4 separate regions of the Homo sapiens genome follow, and regions 1, 2 and 3 are each linked to region 4. The links are contacts of gene promoters, found by promoter capture Hi-C in blood cells and fetal thymus (Javierre and others, 2016). All regions are on one chromosome and are shown on one strand. Each heading gives the region's core, a stretch centred on a gene start or on the middle of the fragment in contact. The rest is flanking DNA. Distances are from core to core; before and after follow the strand shown.

Evidence for each region. The method cuts DNA at HindIII sites, captures the fragments that hold promoters and counts their contacts. A CHiCAGO score of 5 or more calls a contact.
Region 1: a contact is called between a fragment that was not itself captured here and the fragment with the promoter of TNNT3 in region 4, in 4 of 17 cell types (neutrophils, monocytes, total CD8 T cells and 1 more). The highest score is 8.3, in neutrophils.
Region 2: a fragment that was not itself captured here is called in contact with the fragment with the promoter of TNNT3 in region 4 in 1 of 17 cell types (monocytes); the score reaches 7.3 in monocytes.
Region 3: a fragment that was not itself captured here is called in contact with the fragment with the promoter of TNNT3 in region 4 in 2 of 17 cell types (monocytes and neutrophils); the score reaches 6.1 in monocytes.

Annotation. Positions count from the first base shown.
Region 1 is chr11:1,700,607-1,703,338 of GRCh38, forward strand. No RefSeq gene overlaps it. Among named protein-coding and RNA genes, the nearest start is that of KRTAP5-6, 4.8 kb to the left of the region's middle. The HindIII fragment of the contact is 6,583 bases long and covers 1-2,732 here.
Region 2 is chr11:1,724,502-1,727,201 of GRCh38, forward strand. No RefSeq gene overlaps it. Among named protein-coding and RNA genes, the nearest start is that of IFITM10, 25 kb to the right of the region's middle. The HindIII fragment of the contact is 2,242 bases long and covers 226-2,467 here.
Region 3 is chr11:1,679,285-1,681,984 of GRCh38, forward strand. No RefSeq gene overlaps it. Among named protein-coding and RNA genes, the nearest start is that of FAM99B, 5.0 kb to the right of the region's middle. The HindIII fragment of the contact is 3,513 bases long and covers 1-2,700 here.
Region 4 is chr11:1,918,309-1,921,066 of GRCh38, forward strand. TNNT3 (troponin T3, fast skeletal type) reads left to right here and starts at 1,395. Exons shown (of 16, transcript NM_006757.4): 1 at 1,395-1,454. The HindIII fragment of the contact is 31,744 bases long and covers 1-2,758 here.

The DNA of each region.
Region 1 (2,732 bases), core at 92-2,591, 220 kb before region 4:
CATAGGCTTCATCACCTGGAGGAGGGAGCAGCACAGTTTACAGCAGAAATACGCTCTGTCACGTTTCAGAGTGAAGAGTCAGTTGGGGTGACAGCTGTGGAATAGAGGTGCCCCTCAGGGAAGAGGGTCCCTCGCTGCTGTTGCCACATTGTATTAAAATAAAACTATAAAAAAGTGGACAAGGTATCCATGTAGAACTCAATAAGTTTCCACAAAAGCTGAACACCTTCCTAGAACTGGCCCTCAGAACAAGAAATAGAACATTCCGGCACCCCAGAAGCACCCATTTCTAATTGCTACCCACTCCCCACCAAGAGTAACCATGAGCTTGAATTATCCCATCAGACACCAGTTTTGTCTGTTACTGGACTTCATAAAACGCCATCGTAGGCCGTGTCCTCTCATGGCCAGCTCCTTTGGCCCCAGACTATGTTGGCGAGGTTCATCCACTGTGTTGCATGGAATTTGCCCCGTTCGCGGCTGTTGCTGGGTCCTGAATTGTAAGAGTGCAGCGCAGCATGCACACGCACTCAGAGGATTTGGTTTTAAGAGCTGCGTGGGAGGGTGCAATGCAGAAGACAAGTCTTTGTTCTGCACAGTGGGTGGTTGGAGCTCAGAGCTGCTGCCCAAAGCAGAGATCCCGGAAGGGACTGTGCCCTCTGATGGGGGTGGCTAGAAGGCAACCCAGCCGCTGCCAGAAGGAAGGGACTGTGCCCTCTCATGGGGGCAGCTAGAAGGCAACCCAGCCACTGCCAGAAGGAGACAGCAGAGAAATACGTTTGCTGAGTCTGAGATGGGTGATAAAAACATTTCCTTTGAGAAGTGACAACTTCAGGCCCACCATTATCCAGGTGGGAGGCACACATTGGCATCAGTTTTGTGGTCCAGAAAACCACAAGCTGAGCAAGTCACTTAAAGTGGTCCTGAATTGATAGGACCCAGAGCAGCCCGGTGGAAGGAAGTGCAGCAAAACTTCAGACAAAGTCTGTGTCCTCAGCCAAGGCCCTGAGCTCCCCACCTACAGCCGAGGCAAACATGAGCTCACAGCAGAAAACCACAAGCACACAAGGAAAGCAGCCACCGTGGGCAAGAGCCAGCACCCGCAGTCAGAGACACATGGAGACACCAAGGGCCATGAATGAGGACATGAGGAGATAAAATACCAGCTAAATATTTAAAACAATGGGCTCACCCACTGTCTTGGGACCACGAAGGCTCTTCTGAGAGAGAAAGTTTCCTATCCTCAGAGTTTTAGGTGAACATATGGGTAAATCTAATGGGTTATTCTCTTCAAAATGTGTTTGATGTTGTAAACAAAAATCACACCATTCTCTGGTGGGGTTTTCAAAATGAGTATTTGTCATTTATGAGACAAGTGGTCTCTATTGCGGGAAGATTCCTGGATTCCACCTAAATTAGTGAAATATCGATTCTAAGTACACAGTGCAAAAGTAAGCAATATACCCGTACTCTAGAACAACCATTAAAAAGATATAAACAAAGAATATAGTCAAGCTGGTTCTTTGAAAAGATCAACATATTTTTTAAATTTTAGCAAGACTGGCAAGATGAAAAAGAAAGAAGATGCAAATTACCAATATCAGGAATGAGAAAAGGGATATCACTTCGGGTCCCACGGACATTAAAAGGATAATGCAGGAATACTGCACGCCGCATACATTTGGAAACTAAGAGGAAAGGGACCAATTGCTCGAAAGACATGAACCACCAAACTCAAGAAGGAAGAGGGAGCCTGAATATCTCTATCAAGAAACAGAATTTGTAGTTAAAAGCCTTCCCACACAAAAAAACCCTTCAAGGCCAGATGGTTTCATTGGTTAATTCTACATAACCTTCAAGGAACAAATAATCTGAAAGCAAGCAGGAAAAAATATATAAATTTATGGATAAGTGTGTATGTATGCATATAAAATTAGAAATCAATGCAATAGAAAATAGCAAAACAACGGAGAAAATTTATTCAACCAGCCAGGCGTGGTGATTCACGCCTATAATCCCAGCACTTCGGGAGGCCGAGGTGGGTGGATCACTTGAGGTCAGGTGTTCGAGACCAGCCTGGCCAACACGGCAAAACCCCATCTCCACTAAAAGTACAAAAATTAGCCTGACGTGGTGGCCCATGATTGTAATGTAAGCTACTTGGGAGGCTGAGGCAGGAGAATAGCTGAACCCAGGAGGCAGAGGTTGCAGAGAACTGAGCTGAGATCGTGCCACCACACTCCAGCCCGGGCAACAGAGTGAAATTCCATCTCAAAAAAATAAAAAAAATAAAACAAGAAAATTAATTAAACCAAAATCTGGTTCTTTGAAAAGATCAATAAAGATCAATAAATAAAGATCAAAAAAGATAAGCCTGTAGCAAGACAGACAAGAAAAAAGAGCAGACACACATGACCGAGGTGTGTGTGGGATATCACCATGTTGGCCAGGCTGGTCTCAAACTCCTGACCTCAGGTGATCCACCTGCCTTGGCCTCCCAAAGTGCTGGGATTACAGGAGTGAGCGTGCCCGGCCCAAAACTGTTCTATATGATACTGTGATGGTGAATAAATGGCATTCCACGTTCATCATTTGTGTTGTAGAACGTACAACATGAAGAGTGGAGGTGAAGGTTAGGTCTGGACTTTGGGTGCTCACCACGTGTCAATGTTGGCTCATCAATGATGACAAATGGGCCACCCTAGTGTAGGATGCTAACAGCAGGGGACGTT
Region 2 (2,700 bases), core at 97-2,596, 190 kb before region 4:
AGGATATGCACAGATTGGAATCGAAATATGATATAGCTTACAAACATTACCCAAAAGAAAGCAGAGGTAGTTAAATAAACATCAGAAAGGAAGTAGACTTAATAAAAGAAATATTGCTACCAATAAAATGAATCACTTGATAATTTCAAAAAGATCAATCAAAAAGACACGACAATTCTAAACTTCCATTCATCTGATAGCGTTGCTTAAAATACGCAAAAGCAAAGCTTGACAGTGGCAAGGAGACATAGACAAATCTACAATCAGAGTTGGAGGCCGTAATGCACGTCTCTCAGCAACTGATAGGACAATTAGACTGAAAATGAAATCAGTAAGGCAGGAGAAGATTTCAACAACATAATTAACCACTGGAAATAATTAAAATTTACAGCCAATAACTGGAAAATAAACATCTTTTCAAGTGCACATAGACACAGTTACAGGAACAGACCAAAATCTGCTTCAAAAAGAAGCCTCATGCATTGTTAAAGTATTGAAATGATCTAGGGAATGTTCCCTGACAATAGTAAAAATAAAGCCAGATACTGAGAACAGAAGGATAACTACAGGCCGGGCGTGGTGGCTCACGCCTTTAATCCCAGCACTTTGGGAGGCCGAGGCGGGCAGATGACCTGAGGCCAGGAGTTTGAGACCAGCCTGGCCAACATGGTCTCTACTAAAAATGCAAAAAATTAGCTGGGCGTAGTGGTGGGTGCCTGTAGTCCTACCTACTCGGGACGCTGAGGCAGGAGAATCGCTTGAACCTGGAAGGCGGAAGTCGCAGTGAGCTGAGATTGCGCCACTGCACTCCAGTGGGGGCGAGTGTAGAGCGAAACTCTGTCTCAAAGAAAAAAACAATAATAATCACTATAAAAATCTGAATGTCTGCCGGGCACGGTGGCTCACGTCTGTAATCCCAGCACTTTGGGAGGCCGAGGTGGGCAGATCACGAGATCAGGAGATCGAGACCATCCTGGCTAACACGGTGAAACCCCGTCTCTACTAAAAATACAAAACAATTAGCCGGGCGAGGTGACAGGCGCCTGTAGTCCCAGCTACTCGGGAGGCTGAGGCAGGAGAATGGTGTGAACCCGGGAGGCGGAGCTTGCAGTGAGCCGAGATGGTGGTGCCACTGCACTCCAGCCTGGGTGACAGAGCGAGGCTCCGTCTCAGAAAAAAAAAAATCTGAATGTCTGCAAATTAACCAAGTGTCTATGTAATCAAGGATTCAAAAAAGAAATCAGGATAGAACTCAGAAACTATATTGAAACAAATGATAATAAAACATATATAATATCAAAACTTGTAGGATATTTATGGATTTAAATTAATTCATTATATTATGAAAAAAGAAAGTTAAAAAGAATTATTCACCAAAGAGGCTGGAGGGAAAAACAGCAATTTAAACCCAAAGAAATTACAAGAAAGGGAATAATAAAGTTAGGAACAAAAATTAATGAAATGAAAAGCAGACACACAATGGAAAGACCCACAGGCAAACTTTTCTTTTTTAAATAAGTATATTGATAATTATCTACAAGACTGACCAAGAATAAAGAGAATCAAAAGTTGTCAAGAGTATGAAATAGGATGATCAGAAATGAAAATGTGGGTACAGACATCCAAAATGGAATAAAAATATACTATGAACAACTTTATGTCAATACATCTGGCAGCTTCAATGAAATGGAAAAATTCCTTGAAAAACATTACCAGTTATGAAGACTTAATACAGATAGTATTCCCACAGGAATGGAGACAGTCTGATGCTGCTGTAAAGTCAGATAAATAGACCAGTGGGACAGACTGAAGTCCAGAAACACATGCACCACGTCTCTACGGCCACCCAACAAACCACTGAGGGCCCCTGCAACTTAGTGGGGGAAAGATGGTCTTCTCCATGAGGGACATGGCAGCACTGGGACGTCTCTATGGGAAGAATAAAAATACTAACATTGCCCCGGAGTTGGTTCAGGTTCTCCGGCAGCAGAACCAGAAGTGAGAAGATCTCCATGTCTGTAATTTACTGGGGACATGCTCCTAGGAAAATGGGGGAAGGGAAGTAAGATTTCAGGAGAGTGGGGGTTTCTGTGCAGGCCCAGCTTCTGCCTAATCAATGGCAACTCTTGATCATAGATCATAAGTTTATCTTGATGCAGACAGGGGAGCTTGGCTTTGGGGCTCCAGCCGGAAACAGCAGTGACTAAAGACTGTGAAAGGGATATGAAGTCCAGATACAGGGTCTTCCCAAGTACCATCTCAGTCGTGGACTCTTGGAGACAGATGCACACTGAGGCTGGGGGTGGGGCACAGAGGAACAGTGGTATGACCCAAGCAGACCTGGGTGGAGGACCTACAGTGTCCTCAGCTCCCCCGACCTCCCACCTCACATCATACACAAAAATTCATCCAAGGTGGAGCACAGACCTAGATCCAAAAGGCAGAACAATAAAGCTATTAAGAGAAAAGCTTCATGACCCTGAAGTGAGTAAAAAAAAAATAAAGAAAAAAGAAATTAAAAATTAACAGGACATGAAAAACATCAGTCATACAAGATAAAAATTATAAATGGAATTTAATAAAAAATAACTTAGTTATCAGAATATAACATTAAGACAGTGAAAAGACAAACTGCAGAGTGAGAGTGTGCCTAATTACATTTGTCTGGAATGGTTCCTCAATCTTTCCTTGACGTTCATG
Region 3 (2,700 bases), core at 157-2,656, 240 kb before region 4:
ATGGGCAGCCGGGCACAGTGGCTCACACCTGTAATCCCAGTACTTTGGGAGGCTGAGGAGGCCAGGTCACTTGAGGTCAAGAGTTCGAAACCACCCTGGCCAACATGGCGAAACCCAGTCTCTACTAAAAATACAAAAACTTAGCTCGGCATGGTGGCTCATGCCTATAATCCCAACTGCTTGGGAGGCTGAGGCAGGGGAATCACTTGAACCCAGGAGGCGGAGGTTGCAATGTGCCAAGATTACACCATTGCACTCCAGCCTGGGCAATGAGAGTGAAACCCCATCTCAAAAAAAAAAAAAAAAAAAGCCTCCTACCCATAAGATGTAAATAAATGGAGAGATATAACAGGCTTCTTGATTGAGAACACTTACAACTTCAGGTCTCTAAAAATCAACCTATGGATTTAATTATATTCCAATTAAAATAAATAATTACTTTTATCTTGCCAAGTTTTCTCTAAAATTCTCATCAAAATGTATAGGCAAGTGTAGCCATTAAATTTTGGGGGGATGTCTTTATAATTTTTTTAAATTTTTATAGCCATTAAAAATTTAAAAGCAAAATATAAAGGAAGAAGAATGAGTGGTGATTTCCCAGACAGCTATCAGAACAGACTATAAAGCTACAGTTATTAAAACAGCACTGCCTTGCTTCTGGATTACATAAATTGAAGGAGGAAGTGGAGCCGGGCCCTGGCAGCCTTCTCAGTGTAACTCAGGACCCCGTGGACGGGGTGTCTGAGCCAGCAGGAAGAGACAGGGCCTGCTGCAGAGGACGTAACAACAGAACCACGCACCTGCAGCAAGGCAGTCCCATCTCCGTCTCAGCTGAGACACAGAGCAACCACCCAGCTAGGCAGTCCCATCTCAGCTGGAGCACATCCACGAGGAATCCAAATGCACACAAAAAAATAAAAGTACAAAATTCCTGGAAGGACATGTGGGGAATGTATTCCCGATATTGGGGGGGCCTTAAAGCATGGCGCGAAACACAAGCATTGTTAACGGAGTGTCTGGGAGATTTCACTGTTTCAAAAGGAAACACTTCTTTATTGAAAATCACAGTAAAAAAATGACATAGTACAGATTCAGAGAAAATGTTTCTTACAAATATAACAATAAAAATTAATATCTCTGATATCCAAATTGATTATACAAATCAATAGCAGCTCAGTAGAAAAATGGACTAAACGTATGAATATTAATTCTCACACTTTTTATGGAATAATGTTTAGAAAAAGAAAAACTTTAAAATTCACAGAGGGGCTAAGTTTTAGGGAATAGTTTTGAGTGTCATCTATATAGTTTTTCTCAATAAATATATTAATGTAGTAAATTACATTGAGTGCTTTTATATTTTAATTTAGTTTTTCCTAAATTGATCTAGATAGATTTTTTATCAAAAATACCAGGAATACATATTAATCAACACACCAAAATATCAAAAATATTTTTTATTAGATAAATTGATTCTAAAATGTGTACAAAGGGGCAAAGGAACTAGAATAGCTAAATGATAAAAGAAGAAGAAAGGAAGAATCGTGCCCCTCAATGTTAAGAGTTACTCAAAAGCTCCCGTAATCAAGAGTGTCACCGTGGGTGTGGGCACAGCAGCTCATGCATGTAATCCTAGCACTTTGGGAGCCTGAGGAAGGAGGATCTCTTGAGGCTAGAGTTCTAGACCTGCCTGGGCTACATAGTGAGACCTCATCTCTAAAATTAAAAAAAAAAAAATTAATTAAAATTAAAAAAATAGAAAATTGAAAAAGAGAGTGTCACCCCAGGGAAGAGAGAGAGTGGAGGTAAAGGGGCGTGCAGACCCCCAGGATCACGGCCACCTGGCCTCCCACAAGGGACCAAGAGCCGTCAATGCCAGAAGAGCCGCTTTCCCAACAAGCCATGCTAGAGCAGACTCATGGGTTCAAAAATGGCCGTAGACCTACACGTTCATATGAAAATTAACTCAAACTGGGGCTGGGCACAGTGGCTCATGCCTGTAATCCCAGCACTTTGGGAGGCCGAGGCTGGCAGATCACTTGAGATCGGGAGTTCGAAACCAGCCTGGCCAACATGGTGAAACCCTGTCTCTATGAAAAATACAAAAATTAGCTGGGCGTGGTGGCAGGCACCTGTAATCCCAGCTACTTGGGAGGCTGAGGCAGGAGAATCGCTTGAACCCAGGAGGCAGAGGTTGCAGTGAGCCAAGATCATGCCACTGCACTCCAGTCTGGGCAACAGAGAGAGACTCGTCTCGAAATAAATAAATACATTAATAAACAAAAATTATCCAGGCGTGGTGGCAGGCACCTGTAATCCCAGCTACTTGGGAGGCTGAGACATGAGAATCATTTAAACCTGGGGGTTGGAGGTCGCAGTGAGCCAAGATCACGCCACTGAACTCCAGCCTGGGAGACAGAGTAAGACTCCGTCCCCCCCCAAAAAAAAAAAAAAAGTAAAAATAAAGGAAATTAACTCAAATTGGATCAAAAACAATAACACTTTTAGAATAGAAGAAAGTGTCCAGGACCTGGGGCTTGGCAAGGACTTCCTAGATATAACATCAAAAGCATGATTCATATATATTTTAAATCAATGAATTAGATCTCATTGAAATTAAAAACTTTTATGCCGTGAAAGATCCTGTTAGGATGGATGAAAAGATAAGCTGTGGGCTGGGAGAAAATGTTTGCAAAACCC
Region 4 (2,758 bases), core at 145-2,644:
AGGGGACCGGCCCTGTCCTTTGAAATGGCAGCCTGGGGCCAGCCCGCCTTGTCGTGTGACCCCAGGCACACCTTGCCTGTCCCTGGGCTCTGCGGCCTCGCTCTTCCATGGAGGGGTGGAATGAGGTGCCAACCACAGCCTTCCGGAAGGCCCCCGACCCGGCCCCAGGGCACTGTGAGCCCCTGCCGGGTTATCCTGTTGTCCCTGACTCTAAGCCTGGGGAGGACAGGGACCTCATCTGTGCCTCTCGGGACTCACCCCTGTCCTGGGCGCTGGCCAAGAAGGAACCAATCTGTGCCTGAACCGAAGAGTTCCGCAGACACCACCGCCCACGCTCAGCCTGTGGGGTCTGAGGGGAGTGAGGGGGTGGGTCAGGGTGCCAGACTGCTCTCCCCCACCTGGTGCCTCAGTTTCCCTGATCCAAGAGGCAGGGTTATCCAATCTGGTGGCCTCACTGGCCAGCATACAGGCCATCAGAGGCCAGGAAGGATGTCTGCTAGTCGGACGGTGCCACCTGGAGTCCTGAGGAAAGAAAACCAGTCTCCACACGCCACAATGAGCCTGTGGGAGATGCTGGCACAGATGGTAACGGCCACTGCGAGTGCCCAGGGTGGGGCCCCAGGGTTAGAAAGGGCCTAGAGGGAGGACCCAGACCCTTACCCAGCAAACTCCATGTGTAGCCCCCTGCAATGGCAGCAGCCCCGGGGGGAGGTATGGCAGACTCGGACTGCAGCCAGCCTGGCCATGTCCCTCGCCCGCTTATTGTGTAGGCCCCAACGGTGTCTAGCCAGGAAAGCAGAGCTGGCCTCTAAGAGGGTCTCAGATAGGGTGGGGGCCTGGCCTCAGTTCCATGGGGGGTCTCCGAGGCCTCAGGCTGCTTCCTCCCCGGGGGAGACAGCGAAGGGCCTGGGGCATTGGGCCGGGCGGCGGGAGGGGACCCCGGCTGTGCGGACCCTTTTCCTGGACAAATGTTTACTCCCACAGAACATCTCAGAGAGAAGGGGCGGGGGGGTGGGAAACCCGGCAGCCTGGCTCTGGGGACCCCCACACTAGTTTGGCCCAAAGAGAGCCTCGGCTTGGTGCCCCGGGGCCACCCAACACCTTCCTCCTCCCTCCTCAGCCCATCCAGAATGTACCCGCTGCTGGGAGTAAAAATAGCAGCTGACACCTCCTGGAGGCGGAGGGAGGACCTTGCCTCCTTCTCCAAGCACGTCCTCTGCATCCTGGCCTCCTTCAGCCTCCTCCTCTGGCCATTCCTATACTTGGTAAGGGGCCTGCACGGGCATAGCCCCCCCCAGCAAGACTCCGCACACACCCCGGCCACCCAGTCACTGGCCAATGGGCTCCTAGGAAGATCAAATGTCACTATAACACGAGGGTGTGAGCCGGGCGCCAGTGCCTGCAGCCGGTGCTGTCCACAGGGAGCTCCAGCCCTTCTCACACTCGACCCGCAGGTGGGTATAGGCAGGAGCGGCCACCCAGGACTGGGGCCGACGGGGCCTCCTGCGTGCGGGTGGACAGCCCCTCGTTCCAGGGACACTCTGGGGTCCTGGGGCGCTGAGGTCCCAGGTCCGTGTGGTGCCGAGCATCTCGAAGCATCATGGCTCGGAGCCCCCAGGTGGCTGCTCCAGCGTCCGGAGAGTCTGGGATGCGGACATGGTGGTGTGATGGTCTCAGCACCGGGAGGATGCAGAAGAAGGCAGAGTGTGGGAGGCCAGGAGGGGGCAAGTCGGGGCTCAGGGAAGCTCAGTGCTAGGGAGTGGCCTGAGGGCAGGAGGCAGAGAGGTGCGGGCTGTGAGCGGCAGGGAAGAGGCTGTGCAGGGGTGCTGCCAGGGCTTAGGTTGCCAGCTTGTGGTCGCCATGCAGACATTTGCCCAGGCCCGTCCTGGCCTTGCCATGCAGCTCTCGCACCTGGGCCTCCAACACCGCCATTTTGTAGAGATGAAAACGAGGACAGGAGGGCAGGGGCTCCTGTATGGCCAGCCCGAGTGTGTTGGGGTGGGGGCGTCTAAAGCCCACGCAGCCTTGGGGGCCAGCGTCTGGAGGTGCAGGACAGAAGTGGACAGGGGCTGGACTGGGGCAGGACGGGGCAAGAGTGAGGGGCTGGGCTTCATCGCGTCCCCCTGGCTGGAGGCTGGAGAAGCTGGCGCTCGTAAGAGCCCCCACCCACCCTCCCTGCCCTGGACACGGTCCCCCTGACTTGTGCCGTCTGATCAGGCCTTGGCTGCCCCTCCTGAAGTCCACGGAGGGACATGGGGCAAAGCAAAGGTTGGCTGGGTGGAGAACAGGTCTGGGGGCATGGTCAGGGCCACAGCAAGCAAGGGGCAGCGGCTTTTGCCTCCCCACCCTGCCCTGGCCCCGTCACCTCCCAAGGAGGGAAAGGTGATGCATACGTGCCCGAAGAAACTGACCGCATAGGTTATTTTCACGCAGCCCCTCCAAGGCAGGCACTAACTGGACACCTGCTTTGCGTCTCAGCTGTTGAAATGCCATCCCCTGCCCCCAGCACACCCCTGCCCCCAGCACACCCCTGCCACCAGCCCCTCCCCGCAACAGAGGCAATGACACAGGCCATACTGGGGGGAACAGAACAGCCTTGTGTTGCTTCCAGGCGCTCAGCAGAAAACCAGGTGCCTCAGTTTCCCCACTTGGAGAGTGGGCCTTTCCAGCGCACGTCGGGGGGCCTGGAGGTCACCCTGCCTGAGGGTGTTGGGGCACCCATGTGACTCTGGCCTGGGGGGACAGGAGGGAAATATGA